Linked DNA regions of Homo sapiens: region 1 is linked to region 2. The links are contacts of gene promoters, found by promoter capture Hi-C in human tissues and cell types (Jung and others, 2019). All regions are on one chromosome and are shown on one strand. Each heading gives the region's core, a stretch centred on a gene start or on the middle of the fragment in contact. The rest is flanking DNA. Distances are from core to core; before and after follow the strand shown. Region 1 has its middle 210 kb from the start of CLIC5. Region 2 holds the start of SUPT3H (SPT3 homolog, SAGA and STAGA complex component).

Region 1 (7,716 bases), core at 582-3,081, 430 kb before region 2:
CCACCCAGTTGCTCAAGCCAGACCCAACTGAGAGTCACCCTTGAGCCTACCCTTCTCTTACCACCAATCTACTGCCAGTATTGTTGATTCTATCTCCAAAGTACATTTCAAACAAATCTACTTCTCTGCATCTCTATTGACATCATCTAGCTCAAGCTGACAACTTCCTCTCTCAAACCCACAGCCAGTGACCCCGAGTGCAGGCTCACACAGCCTCTGTCAACTCCACCTTACTTGTCTGTTTTCTGTTCCTCAAGTACACCAAGTTCATTCCCACCCCAGGACCTTTGCACTTGCAATTCTCTCTGCTCTGTCTTCTGATCTTCTCATGCCTGGTTCCTTCCTGTCACTCTGATAGTAGCTTAAGTATCACCTGTTTTGAGATCTTCCTTGCCTACTCAATCTAAAAAATTATGAGAGACTTAAGTTCAAATTCTAGCTCCCTACTTTCTAACAGTAAGGAAAAAATAAAGAGTGAGCATAGGAAGCAGGAGAGTGAACAACATGTAACACTAACTGATATGGTTTGGCTCTGTGTCCCCACCCAAATCTCATCTCATAGCTCCCATAATTCCCGCATGTTGTGGAAGAGACTCGGTGGGAGATGATTGAATCATGGGGGGCAGGTCTTTCCCATACTGTTCTCATGATAGTGAATTGGTCTCAAGAGGTTTTTAAAACAGGAGTTTCTCTACGGAAGCTCTCTCTTTGCCTGCTGCCATCCATGTAAGACATGACTTGCTCCTCCTTTCCTTCCACCATGATTGTGAAGCCTCCCTAGCCATGTGGAACTGTAAGTCCAATTAAACCTCTTTCTTTTGTAAATTGCCTAGTCTCAGGTATGTCTTTATCAGCAGTGTGAAAACAGACTAATACATGAACCATGATCTTGGGTTCAAGATCTGGCTCTGACACTACCTGCCTTATGAGTCTTTCCACTATATTGTAGTAGGTAGAAGGAGGCTAGGTAAGATGGATGGGCAACGAGCAAGAGAGAGTTTATGGTGGGATGGCTGTTAGACTTTCTGGCCAATGTGTGAAGGAGGCTTCTGCCAAACAGAAATGACCACAGACAGCAATTATTGGCTGAAAGGGAGCTTTAATAAAATTGATGCATCTTATATATCTCCAAAACAAGCAATAAACTTCGCTCAGTAGGAATATGAGGGATTTTAACTTATGGTCCTTTCCTTTGAGCCCTAAAAATACCATGACAATTAAGAATACATAGATCAAATAATAATCATAACTTGCATTCACTAATGCTCTTATGCTAGCTGGACACCCTACTCTCAATATCCTGTTCAATCCTTCCACAACCCCTTGAGGTAGGTTTTCTGTTACTATTCCCACTTTATAGAATAGAAAACTGAATATTACACTAAAGCTCACACAGGTAGAAAGCTGAGATTTGAACCCAGGTGTGTCTCCTCCCTGGGGCTATAATATTTCCTGTAAAAAAGACATCTTGGACAAGATCTGATTGGGTTCTAACTCAGGAAGTTAAGCAAAGTTCATTATTTTGGGAGAAGTCCTCTTAGAGGAGCTGGAAATCATGTTCAGTCTTAGTGTATGTGTTGGAATAGGAAAGACAAAATCAAAAGAAGAGGGCATGGAGCAGTTATTCCTCTACTGAGTGCACAGCCTATGGACTTGAATAGTAGGAGACACATTTGGAGAGAATAGGAGGCTGCAGTGGCCACAACACAGTGTGCATATCCTGCCTTCCCTCCTTCCTTCATTCAATCATTCATTCCACAAATGTTCATACAATACCTCCTGTGTAGCACAGTCCTGGCAGCTTGGGGAATATGAGGGACAACCAAGGAGACATAGTCCCTGCCCACACATGGCTAGAGCCAAGTGGAAGAAACAGATACTAACAAATAAGCACAGATAAATGCCTTGTTTCTTTGATCTAAGACATTATCAATTGTAAGAAATACAACTTCATCACAGGCACACATAGTTTGTAAGATGCAGCCCAGTTTGGAAGCTTTAAACTATTGGGGAAGAGATGTAGATATAGCATATAATTGCATAATTGTGAGAAGTGCTATGAAGAAAAAGTACAAAGCACTATAGGAGACACTAATGGGGTGTGGTAAGGATTAATTTAGGCTGCAGGAATCATAGAATCCCTCTTGAAGGAAGTGAAGGATGCTGGAAGAGTAAGTTAGGTGAAGAAAGGGGCTATCATATGTGCAATCCCTCAGGCAGGACTCATACTATAGCTGCAAGGACATGAAGGGCCAATGTGGCTCCAGGAGGGCCAGTGTGTGTGTGTGAGTGGGGGCAATGCCACCAGAGTGTAGCCGTGGCCAACAGGTTCAACATGTGGGCTCTTGCATGTTACATTAAAGACTCTGGGTTTTATTCTAAGTCCATGGAGAACCATCAGGGGTTTTTAAGCAGGAGAGTAACATGGTCCAATTCTTGTTTTTAAAGGTCAGTCTGGCTACAATATGAAGAGCAGATTGTGGGAGCAATAGCAAGGAGATTAGTTAAGAGACACTAGCAGTAGTCCAGGAAGAAAGGATGGACCCTTCCTCAGGGTGTGGAGAGAAGCTGATGGATTTGAGACACATTTTGGAGGTGTAATTGAGAATACTTGGTGATATTTGTATACTGAAGGAGGTGTAAGAATTAAGGATAAACTGTCAGGTTTCTGACATGAGAACTTGAGTGAATGGGGATAACCTTTCCTGAGATGAAAGAGAACAAACTTTGGAGGAGAAGCCTACAACTTCTTTTTTGGATGTAAGTTTGGGATGTTTCAGAGAGTCCTAAATTAAGAGTCAATTTGGCACTTAGATGTGAGTCAATTCGGCACTTAGATGTGAGTGTGGAGTGCAGAAGAGAGGTCTGGGTATTTCCATGTCTGCAGTTGGTGTCTTTAGATTGGGAGTTTTCGGCATAAATGATGTTTAAACTCATAAGATTAGAAGAGGTTGTCTAAGGAAAGAATATATTGTGAGAAAAAGACCAGGGTGAAAGCCTAAGGTGCCCCAGCATTTAGAGGTGGTGTGAAAGATGTAAGTCCAACAAAAAGGATGAGCAGAAATGGCCAGAGAGAGCAGGGGAGCCAGGCACCCAAGGTGAAGGCCAAGAGAAGAGACTTTTAAGAAGCAGGGAGTGATCGATTATGTCAAACACTGCAGAGATGGTCAGGAAAGATGTACCCTTTGGATTTTGCACTGGAGAGACAATGTATCACTTTAGCAATAGCAGGTTTTGGCTTGCGGTGAGGAGAATACAGACTGAGATGGGCTAATGAGGAAGCGGAGGCAGACTGTGTAGGCAGTGCTTTCAGGAAGCTTGGCTAATGACGGTATATGGGAGAGGGTGGAAACTAGTGAGGGTGATGAGGTCAAGGGAGGATTTAGTTTGCTTTTGTTTGGAGAGCCATTTGCCCAAGTGGAAAGCTAACACAATGATCCACACAACAGTGATGGGTTGAAGATATGGGAAAGAAATGACAATATTAGAAGAGTAATATTCCTGAGCCCCCAGGGAATGTTGCATCTAGAGCACAATGCAAGCCATATATGTAATTTTAATTATCTAGGTAAATATGTTAGCAAAAGTAAAAACAAAGAAGTGAAATTAATTTCGATAACATATTATGCCCCACACAAAATATTCAAAATATTACCCTTTCAGCATGTAATCAATGTAAGAAATTATGAATGAGATATTTTACATTCATTTTTATCCTATTTTACACTTATAGCATATTTCCACTCAGACTGGATACATTTCAAGTGCGAATAGTCACATGTGGCCGCTGGCTACCATATTGGACAGCCCAGGTCCAGAGCACAGGTAGAGGCATTGACCTCTGATGGAGTAAACAACATTTTCTCCCTTGAAAGATAGAAAGGAAAAGCTGCAGGAAGGTTTGAAGATTTGGTGGTAGGTGAATGAAGGATATTGGGAGGAGTTTTCAAGACCATTTAGTACAACTACCAGGACATTACTTAATCTTTCCATCAATATACTTCTGCTCCTTTGAAATTCCTTTACTTCCATAATACATTGAGAAACCATTGGGCTTCTTGAGTGACAGAAGGTAGGCATATTTTATGCTGGAAAGCCTCCCATAAAATCTTTCAAAAATCCCTTTTTAAGCACCATAAGGGCTATTTTTATACATTGTCTTCTCATAACTTTGGAGAGACAAATCATCCTTCAGTGGCAAAGCAAGTGTAAGTTCTCGGTCCTAAGCCCAGTCTTGCCATTAACACCTCACTGTGCTGGGAAGTTCCCTTCATAGGGATGGATGGTCTGAGCAACAAGCATAAGAAAGATAAAGAGACCCTGCTAGGTTCTAAACGGCCACATGCATCATCAATAATGATCAGAACAACAATGACAATGATACTCACAGGCCCGGCCACATCCTCCTGGTGCTGGCAGTTGATGCCCCCTCAAATCTACGTTTCACTCATCGAAGGATCAGCAAAACCCCAAGTGTGAGTCTGCCTAGGCCTTTTCCTCCTCTCCCTTCAAACCCACATGTATCTTGAGGTAAATCTAATCCACATGTTTCTGATTCATTTACACTTAACTCATCAAAATGTTGTTTTCTAACAGCTATTTGATGGCCAAAAACTCTTTCTTAAAGCTCCTTTCTTACAAATAGGATGTTGTGGTTTGCCAAGAGAAAAAAAATAAAGCTGGGCCCCAAAAGGTTTGAATGTGACTCAAAACTAAGAAATCATGAAGTTTGGACCAAATTTGGCCAGAAGCTTTCTCATTATTCCTCATAACCTTTCTCCCCCAGGTGATTTTTCAACTCTCAGTTCAGTGATAGACAAAGTGACAATGCTTAGGCCAGGCAGGGTGCTGGTCCAGGATTGCATTTGACGCTGGTTGAACGAGAAAATACGATGCATTCGCAAGGGACATTTTTCAGTCAATTCACTTCTCCTCCCTTGAAATTCCCTTTACCTCTGTGGTTTACAGTGGGCCTCTTGTCCACTAAATGGCAGCTCCTTTACTCACCCCAGGGCGCTTTCTGCACACATAAACTGCTCCCCTCGGGTGGGGCTATTCATGGTACTTGGAACCATGCTTCTTTCTTCATTTCCTCTTCTCAATGAAAGCTCTGTGTCAAAGGTTTCAGGAAAACAAAAATCCCAGAGCATGAAGAATTTCATGGCCCTGCAAAGAAACAGAAAATACATTAGGTCAGATGTTAGGCTGATAAACTCATCAACTCCCTTTAACTTAAGACTTTAATTAAAATGACCCCTGTAAGGGGGATTAAAAATAAACACTCATTTATGGTTTCTCTCTGAAATCCTGTAAAATCGACATGAAAACACTACTTCTGGTTTATTGTAGCTTCCTAAGACACCCTGGCCAGACGGATTTTATTCCTGCCATTTGGAATTAAGACAAATCTTCAGCAGCCCTCACAGGCATAGATACTCTGATCTTCCTCCATGTTTGTTTCTCTTTGGGCAGCTTCCAGACACGGGCCATTGGACGCATGTTACGCTAGCAAATGAGTTTATGAGGTCTCTCTGCTGTAGGAGCAAACTGTGTAGTCTGGCAGTAGTAACTAGGACACAATAAATGGCCAAAAAGTATGTGTTGAATTAATCTGTATCAACAAATCTCAGTGGGTCTATGGATCTAGAGGAATAGAGAAGAACCATATTCATAGTTTGCAAAGCAAGAGAAGAAATGAAAAGTGTGGTGGAATGAGGAGAAATGCAGAGAGAAGGTACCTAGTAAAGTCATTTTGCAAACAACTCCAACCATTGCCTCTCTTTCCAGCAAGCAATGAATGACAGTTTCTAGAAAGCTTTACCAAGGTGACAATGGATAAGACAGGATAAGACAGATTTTGTGACATATACCAATCTAGAGCTATTTTGTTATATCTTCCTGGAGCAATGGCAGAAGCCCACAGTTTGGTGTATCTGAAATTTCCACTGGGAAGACAATAGGATAATGGAAGAAATAAGGCACAATCTTTGGACTGGGAAGGAAGATTTTCCTGTTTCTCTCAGGCCAGTAGTTCACTGGGTCCAGACTCTAAGATACAGATACCCTGGATCAATTCCAGCAGTGAGGATGAGCTGTCCCTGGGAAGGTGGCAGGAGCCAGCAGCAACGGCAATGTAGAGAGATGGCCAGTTTCTGGGCAGCCAGGATGTAGGGCAGCAGCTGTGATGCCCTACAAACTCAAGCAGTGAGGCCCAGTACCAGTACCAGTACCAATCATCTGGTGTCCCAGTGCCAGTAGGAAGGTCAAGAGCAATCAGCCCTGCCTGTAAACTTGAGGTGAGCAGCACCTCACCCTGAGGCTGGAGTCAAGTCATCACCAGCCAATACCCACATGAGACAGCAGAGAGGCAATATCAGATTATTCCACGCTCAGCCAGAAGCAAGATCAGAAGATGGAACCTGACGGTTTGTTCCAATCACAACCTTCTGCAAAACTCTCAGAGCATCTGAGTGACATTTTGGAGATGGTTCTGTCCAGAAAGTCTGCAGGCATGAACTCATGTTCTCACAATCTTGGACTTTAAGAAAGCATAACTTGGTTCTTCAGAAAGCCTTGGAACATATATAGGTGACATGAATAATGCCATCCTTAGGAGCCCCAGCCAGCTATTTAGTTCCCTTATCTAAGACTAGCACTTTAGGATTCCCCCACATTTGACACCACCTTTCTGTCATCTTCTGCCATCACATAGAACCTTTCCTGATATAAAAGGATCAGAAATGAAGGTTAATATGTATTTTTTTTAATGTAAAGAAGAAGGCGGCCGGGCGCAATGGCTCACGCCTGTAATCCCAGAACTTGGGGAGGCCGAGACGGGTGGATCACGAGGTCAGGAGATCAAGACCATCCTGGCTAACACAGTGAAACCCCGTCTCTACTAAAAACACAAAAAAATTAGCCGGGCGTGGTGGCGGGCGCCTGTAGTCCCAGCTACTCAGGAGGCTGAGGCAGGAGAATGGCGTGAACGCGGGAGGCAGAGCTTACAGTGAGCCGAGTTCGCGCCACCTCACTCCAGCCTGGGTGACAGAGCGAGACTCTGTCTCAAAAAAAAAGAAGGCAAAGCTTGTGTACCCTGAGTTATACTCCTCGATATCCACAGGTTTTCCAACCTGGTGAGGTATCGACCCTTCCTTGAATTAACTCCTATTCTACTTTCAAGAGGATTACAGCTATCACACTTGGGGCCTCCCTTTGGGATGTTCCTCACATGTAACTGGTAGGCCCCTGGCCCCCTATTTTCTGTCCGCTCTTCATGAAGAGTGGTTGAGCTCCCCAACCTCTTCCTGTACTCTTTGGGATAGGGAAGCTTCCCACATCTCATTCAACAACATGTTAAAAATATTGCTTGCTGCTCACCAACTAATGGATATGACAGAAAAAAATAATCTATCATTTGTCATTTCTGCTCCCACCATGTCTCCTGAAAGGAGTGAATTCTGGAAACTAGAAGATCTTTTTAAGAAGCTGAGCCCCGCATTATGGTTCTCAAAATAATGGGCTTGCACATGTTGATGGCAATGCGATGAAAGATGTTTTCCAAAGCCTTTCACCAGGACTTACAATATGAGATACATTTTGCACTATAGTCCCCCACCAACACACACCATTTTAATTTCATTTTTTAAAATTTATTTCATTTTTTAGAAATGACAGTGTCACCCAATAAATTGATTTCACAACTCACTATTGGTTTAT
Region 2 (7,715 bases), core at 4,914-7,413:
TTATGGCTAAAGTGACACCAAAGCCTTTATTTTTTACACTATACCTGACTGAGTTAAAGAAATGGTTTTAAACATATTCTGGAAAGAGGAAAATACAGCTTATGCTGCATCTGTAAAAAGCTAAAAATAAAAACAAAGTAACCTGGTGAAACCTGTTGGTACAGTTCCCTGATTACTATTAACAAATGATCTGAGCATTACTTAGTCAAAATAGGTTTGTTGCATCCACCTTCAGAATGTGAAGTAGGAATAACAGGTTGCCTTAGCCACACTGTAGTTTATTTTATATGACACCAAATAACTTTTGGTCCTGTTTCCACATGTAATAGAAAAAGAAGGCAGTTATTTGAATAATTTACTGAAATAGATTCAGTTTCAATGAAAATACTTTGGAGAACTGGATGTTTCTGTATACTCGTCTTAACTTTATTCTCTACTTTCATGGATTAATAGACCAAAAAATATTTTTCTTTTTCTTTTTTTTTAAACAAGGGGATGTTTAGCTTTTCTCAAACTTTCTTAAAGGTATTCCTTGACATATATTAGATAGGTCTAAATGGAACTTTATTACATGAGCAAGATTAGAAATTAATTTAATTATTATAGAATGTTACAAATTCAAAGTTCTCATTTCCTTAAGAACTTATTTATTTATTTACTGAGACAGGGTCTTGCTTTGTTGTCCAGGCTGGAGTGCGGTGGCGCTATCTTGGCTCACTGCAACCTCTGCCTCCTGGGTCCAAGCGATTCTCCTGCCTCAGCCTCTCAAGTAGCTGGGATTACAGTCATGTGCCACCCCACCTGGCTAATTTTTTGTGTGTTTTTTTTGTAGAGATGAGGTTTCGTTATGTTGGCCAGGCTGGTCTTGAACCGGCCTCAAATGATCCACCTGCCTTGGCCTCCCAAAGTGCTGGAATTATAGGTTTGAGTCACCGTGCCCGGCCCAGAACTTATTTATTTTTGATGGCAAAACATTAAAGATAATACAAACATCATGCTTAATTATGTACTTATTCCCCAAACTGCATTCCTGATCTCTTGCACCTGCCCAGCATACTCCAACCCCAATCTTCCCCATCTCAGCTAATGTAGGCAAATCAATTTTTCCAGTTGCTCTGAACAAAATTGTTCATCCTTCATTCCTCTCTTTCTCTAGAACCCTAAATCCAATGTGTCAACAAATCATATTGGTTTTCAAAATATACCCAGAACCCAACCATGTCTTAAGCCCTCTACTGTAACAACCCTAGTACAAGCTACCATCATCTTTTGCCTGGGTTACTGCAATAGGACCTGTCACTCTACAGACTATTTTCAACCTGGCAGCCAAGGTAACCAATTTAAAGCCTAAATCTTACGATGTCAATCTTCTGCCAATAGCCTCTCAGTGTCAGGCACACAAGGCCTTTCACCATCTGGCCTAGTGCTTCTCTGACCTCATATCACATGATTTTCTTTCTGGGTTACTCTTCTTTAGCTACAGTGGCCTCCTGGCAGTTGCTTCAACTTACCAGACCTGTCCCCACCCTACGGTTTGCACAAGTTGTTCTCATAGTCTGGAATGCTCTTTCTTCAGATATGTGCAGGTATCTCCTTCACTTTCAAGTCATTCTTCAAATACTACTTTCTCAGTGAGGCCTGCTTCAACTGCCCAATTTAAAAATGACATCTTCCCCATTTCTCCTGTGCTTGGTCTCCTTCCACATCCCTTCCTGTATAAACTTTTTTGATAACACTCATGACCTTCTAACATACTATATAATTTAGGTATTTATTTTAGGCATTTATTTTTATTGTCTAACTTCTGCATGTGAGTTTGATGATGGCATATGTTTTTGTCTGTTTTGTTCACTGCTCTATCTGCAGCTTCGAGAATAGTGTCAGGTACATGGTAGGCCTACAACAATCCGTTGAAATGTAGAAGTTGTTTGATTCCAGTACAAGAGTTTTACATATTGGATTCCATGGGAACGGGAACAACTAAGTTTTCATGTGCCTGAAGAGCTCAAAGGCTCTTTGAAACTCTGGTATTCCATGGTTCCCTTACCATTCTGACTCTCAAAAACATAATCATTTTTTCAGCAGCCAAGCACTACTTTTAAAAGACACTGGACTGTGAAATCTACAATGATAGGTCCCTAAGAGGATGATCATGATTACAATTCTACAAGCTACCTGGTACTGTAAAATTTTTTAACATTTCTTTTCTAATCATTGTACTGCTTTTCCTTATGAATGCAATTGGAAGGTAGGGGAAGCCAATTTGATTACACCTTAATAATTTTGTGGCACCCCAACCCCCTGCAGTGCATCAGCATATTTGATACATCTTTTCACGCTGGTTTTTCTTTTGAAATGTGTAACATCAGGCAGGGCATGGCAGCTCACTCCTGTAATCCCAGCACTTTGGGAGGCTGAGGCAGGAGGATCTCTTAAGCCTAGGAGTTTGAGACCAGCCTGGGCAACCTAGGGAGATCCCCATCTATACACAAAATTTAAAAATTAGCTGAGTGTAGTGGCACATGCCTGTAGTCCCAGCTACTGAGGAGGCTGAGGTGGAAGGATTGCTTGAGCCCAGAAGGTTGATGCTACAGTAAGCTATGACTGCATGACTTCACTCCAGCCTGGGCAACAGAGAGGGAAACCCTGTCTCAAAAGAAAAAAAAAAGAAAAGCCCTGAATACTTTTGTAATTTTTGTAGCACAAATGCTGAAATTATTCTGCACAACTTTAGTATCCATCCTTTGGCTATTCCCATTTTGAAGGAACATAGAATTTTAGGGCTGTAAGGTTTTAGTTCATTTGGTTCTATCATCTCATTCCACAGATACAAAAACTGGGGTGCAATGATGTTAAGTGACTTGCTCAGGTACTACCGGGCTGAGTAATCTTTTTGGTCAGAACAACTTGCTCTAAACATAAAACAAGATACTTTTGAGAATGCAATTGGAAAACAGTTCTCAACGTCAGAAAACAAATATAGCAACAATTGCAATATACGGTTCTAAACAATATGCAATCTACCCAGTTTATTTCCATGGTGACAACTTAAGCATTAAAAATAGAAGGCAAATATAGCAAAGGATGAAATAATTGATAAATAGAAAATAAAAAGTCCCCACAAACATCCTAGCAAGTAAGAGTTATGAATCTCAAACAACAAAGAATTTCCAAGTCACCTGAACTGTCACTGTAGCATCCACATGAGAAGAAACCACTTCTGGCCGGGTGCGGTGGCTGACACCTGTAATCCCAGCACTTTGGGAGGCCGAGGCAGGCAGATCACAAGGTCAGGAGTTTGAGACCAGCCTGACCAACATGGTGAAACCCCGTCTCTATTAAAAATACAAAAATTACCCGGGCGTGGTGGCACACGCCTGTAATCCCAGCTACTCAGGAGGCTGAGGCAGAAGAATCGCTTGAATTGGGGAAGAGGAAGTTGCAGTGAGCCGAGATCGGGCCACTGCACTCCAGCCTGGGTGACAGAGCGAGACTCTGTCTCAAAAAATAATAATAAAAAGAAACCACTTCCATGGAATCAGAGAGATGGTTCCATATTAGCCATGACTTCTGCTGCTCTTTTGAGAATGTGGGCTTACTACCTAATCATTTTAAGATGCCCATGGGCACTTTTACTTAGATACATGCACTTTCTCTTTGCACTAGTGAGTCTACGTGAATATTACATGCCAGAGGAACGTTAAAGTCTACGCTAACAATGCTTCATTTTTCTTTAACAATTTTGTCCAGGTCATGGAGACATTTTTGTGGAGTGATAAATTAACTTGGTCTCCTGATGTGTTTTCCCCACATGCCTTGGAAAATCACTTGTTTTTCTGAGAGGTGGTAGTCATCAAAGCCTTAACTTCAGCAACAGCTTCGCTGTTTTAGCTTTGTTATAATTAAGATACCCTAGTACCATTGATAGTTTAGGATATTTGATATGAATGTAATGCAAAAATATTTTTGGCCCTTTGTATATAGCAATGGTCTCAAACTATGAGCAAAATTATGGCTAAATCAGATTTTCAAAAATGGATTTTAAGAAATTCCAGGAGGTAGGAACCTGGTTAACTCATGTGACTTTAAAAATCAGATCTCTGCCAACAGCCCAATTCAGTTTCCTAAGAATAAATTTTTAAACTTCCTGTATCAATGCCTTAACTCAGTTTCCCTTCTCCATGTGTCACTCTCATTAACTTTTGTTGTGCGTGATTTTTTTTTTTCTTTTTTTGACGGAGTCTAGTTCTGTTGCCAGGCTGGAGAGCAGCGGCGTGATCTCGGCTCCCTGCAACCTCCGCCTCCCAGGTTCAAGCGATTCTCCTGCCTCAGCCTCCCGAGTAGCTGGGACTACAGGCACGTGCCACCACGCCCGGATACTTTTTTGTATTTTTAGTAGAGACGGGGTTTCATCATGTTGGCCAGGATGGTTTCGATCTCCTGACCTTGTGATCTGCCCGTCTCGGCCTCCCAAAGTGCTGGGATTACAGGCGTGAGCCACCGCGCCTGGCCTGTGTGTGATTTTATGCAGGCTGGACACCAGTATCCTAGAATAAGATGATCTGGATTCTATCCTGATAAACTGGATCAAACAGGTACTCATCTGATGCAGGTGAAACTCCAGTGCAGGAACTTCTATGATAACATTAACTGAACATAATTTTAATTGAAATGATCTACTTTTATGTTTCTTTAGATGTGAACATTAATTTTTCTCTTAATCTTCTGTTAACTAATTTCTTGGTAATGTACTCAAAAGAGCTTTCAACCAGTCTTCCCATGTAAGAAGTTATCACCATACTCACTCTGTTACTTTCCCTTATACTGCACACTTTGCTCAGCAATGAATTGATCCCTGATTTACACATCAAGCTGAGCTCTCACATCCTAAATATATCTATTCTTTTGGAATTTTAGGTATTTGGCAAATATTGAAGCGTTGGGGAGATTAAAGAGAATCAAACACAACACTAGCAGACTCAACTACAATCCACAGAGGAAATAACCAAATAAGTTGCTATTTTAAACAATTTAAGCAAATAGAAGGAAGGGATTTCAGAACTCACAGTATCTATAGGCAAGAAAATAACTGAAGCAGTGATGCTTAAAAAGACTTGGTGAGGGTTAATACTTGAATCCCTATAAAATACAGTATTTTATAGTATTTGACAACACAGGTGTGAAGGTGAGCATGGATAACCAGTTTTCTTCTCTAAGCAGGCAATAAGAATGTTAAATATAAATAAGACTTCATATAATATAAAGAGTGAAAGACTGAAAGCATTGTCTTACGACTACTGTATTATTTAAAGAACTACATCTATATCAATTAAATGTGGCAGGACAGAATGTACAGTACAATACTGGGGGTGCAAGATTTTAAAATGAGGAACAGGCCAAAATCTAAACACAGAATCGTCCAAAAAAAAAAAAAAGCCTTCAAGTAGAAAAAGTTTTCAATAACAAAACATGGTAGTTAAACGCCTGCGTCTAGTAACATGAGTTGGGGAAAAAACATTAATAGCAGATTAATGAAACAGATTCTGTGCGAGGTCAGGGTAGGGAGTGATGGCGCGCGGAAGCGGCGTAAGAGCTGGTTTCGCCGTCCCAGAAAGGGTTCCACATCCACACGCCTGTACTGCGGCCCTGCGGGGAGCGTTCAGACCCCTCCGTTTCCCTTCACCATTGTAAACGCGCAATCCCATTAAGATCCCGTTCACTCCAATTCCTGGAAAGAAGCTTAGAACGGTGAATCTCTTCCTCGGAGTTGAAAATCAACTTCCAGTGCCGGTCACCCAATCCTTCAAAAATCCTAGCCCTCTCGGGCCCAATTCCTAAAGAATTCAAGCCTGCACCCTGTACACCCTGACCGATCTCAGCTCGTCCCCACTCCGCTCCCAGCGTCCCCAGCTCTAAACGCCGCCGCGTGGCTCAGCGCTGCCCAAGCCGGGCCCTGAAGGCCGCGCACAACGCCCCGCCCCCGGCGAGCGTGGCGGAAGTAGCTCGCTCGGGCTGGGAGAGCGCGCGCCACCTGGCCAAGCGCGCATGCGCCCGCACTGCCAGTGCGGGGGGCGTCCGTATCGCTTACTCCTCAGTCTCCGCAACCCCCGCCCCACCGAGAGTCGGGCTCACGCCATCTTGTACCCCCCCCATCGCCCCGTCACACAGCCGAGTCACCTTTTCCCTTTCTACACTCCACACTCTCAGTCCCCCACCCCGCCCCTTTCCAAGCGTGTCCCGGGCCGCAGCAGCAGAAACCGCACCATCTCCACCCCCACATTCTCCTCGCGGGAAGCGCAGCAGTGCCTCCAAGGGTTCTTAAAGCAGAGGTTGTAGGGCTTGCGGGGGGCGGTGCGGGGATTCGGGCGGGGGAGACGTCAGAGAGCCGGGAGGGACGCAGAGCGGAGATCCCAGCGTCGCTGGGCCCCCGCGCCGGCCACGCCCTGGCCCCGGCTCGAGGGCGGCTGCCTGGGTCTTCGTGGTCTACGCCGGAGTGTTGAAGGGAGGGCGGCTGTGGGAGGCGCTGGCCGGGCGCAGCGCCCTGGTTCCGCTGCCGAGCGTGGAGTTGCCTCTCGACTCCTCCCTTTTGGCGGGTGGGCGTGGGGTGAGGGGGGCTGGGCTGTGCTGAGAAGCGGGGTGCGCGGGTCGTCTAGGTAGTGTGGGGGCTGCCGGAGGAATCATTAAAGAGGGAAATTGTTGCTTTATGGCACGGCGAGAGAAGAGTTAGGTAGTTAGTGGGAGTGTAGCATCCAGAAAGAGGAAAAGATCCGCTGTGTTCTCTGTGGGGTGAGCTCACGTCTGTGACCCCTGGGGAAATTATTTAGCTTGTCTTTGCCTTGTTTTGGTCTGTAAAATGGCGATCTTATAGCCTATTTCAGAATTGTGAGGATTATATGAGAAAATACACGTTAAACGCTTAGAACAGCGCCAGGTGCTGCTCAGTACATATTAGCTCTGCTTTTGCTCTCCACGTTTTAGGAGTTCAGAATGACTGTGACCTTATTTTCTCAGAGAATCAGGACACTTGGTCTCACACGTGAGAGTGAAGTTATGAAGACAGTGATATGTAATATTTGACACTCAGACGATCCTGGACGTAGTATTACTGTACACGTGGATAAATTAGCATTTCTCCAAGAGGCTAATAGAAATGTTAAGTTATTTCGGTAGAAAGAAATGTGTGTGTATATATATGTATATACATATGTGTGTATATAAGTATATGTATGTGTATATATGTATGTATGTATTTGGAAGGAGAGGACCTGGGGTCTTAGTATATGTGAAGGGCAGACTCTGGAAGAGGAATTAAATTCGCCCTGCAAAGATTTACTTGAAGGACAAAACTTGGGGAATTTCTGGTGAATGTTTCAAAGAGGCTGAATTTGCCTATGAGAAACAGTTCGTGAGAGTACTTTGCAAGAATGGAATGCTCTTCATTGTGCTATGGAAAGTTTCTTATCTCAGGATATTCGGGACGTTGGAGCGAAGTATGCCTAAGTCTAGGGCTGCACTTTTCACTAGCAGTTTCTGCCTTGATGGAGATGTTCCATAATCTGTGCCTTTAGGCACTAGTGGTAGCCTAGGCACAGTGGCTCTTCAGCACTTGAAATGTGATAAGTGTCACTGAGGAACTTAATTTTTAATTTTATTCATAAATTAATAAATTGATTTACGTTTAAATACCCACATGTGGCTAGTGGTAGCTACTGCAT

The links. Contacts are between HindIII fragments. The study calls those that stand out against the background at their distance.
Region 1: a fragment that was not itself captured here is called in contact with the fragment with the promoter of SUPT3H in region 2 in 1 of the 25 tissues and cell types used here (stomach).

Annotation. Positions count from the first base shown.
Region 1 is chr6:45,798,856-45,806,571 of GRCh38, reverse strand. No RefSeq gene overlaps it. Among named protein-coding and RNA genes, the nearest start is that of CLIC5, 210 kb to the left of the region's middle. The HindIII fragment of the contact is 6,904 bases long and covers 1-5,283 here.
Region 2 is chr6:45,376,382-45,384,096 of GRCh38, reverse strand. SUPT3H (SPT3 homolog, SAGA and STAGA complex component) reads left to right here and starts at 6,163. Exons shown (of 11, transcript NM_003599.4): 1 at 6,163-6,329. The region is part of intron 2 of RUNX2 (RUNX family transcription factor 2); the gene reads right to left. RefSeq lists silencers at 5,872-5,921, 6,242-6,521 and an enhancer at 5,688-6,231. The HindIII fragment of the contact is 12,283 bases long and covers 963-7,715 here.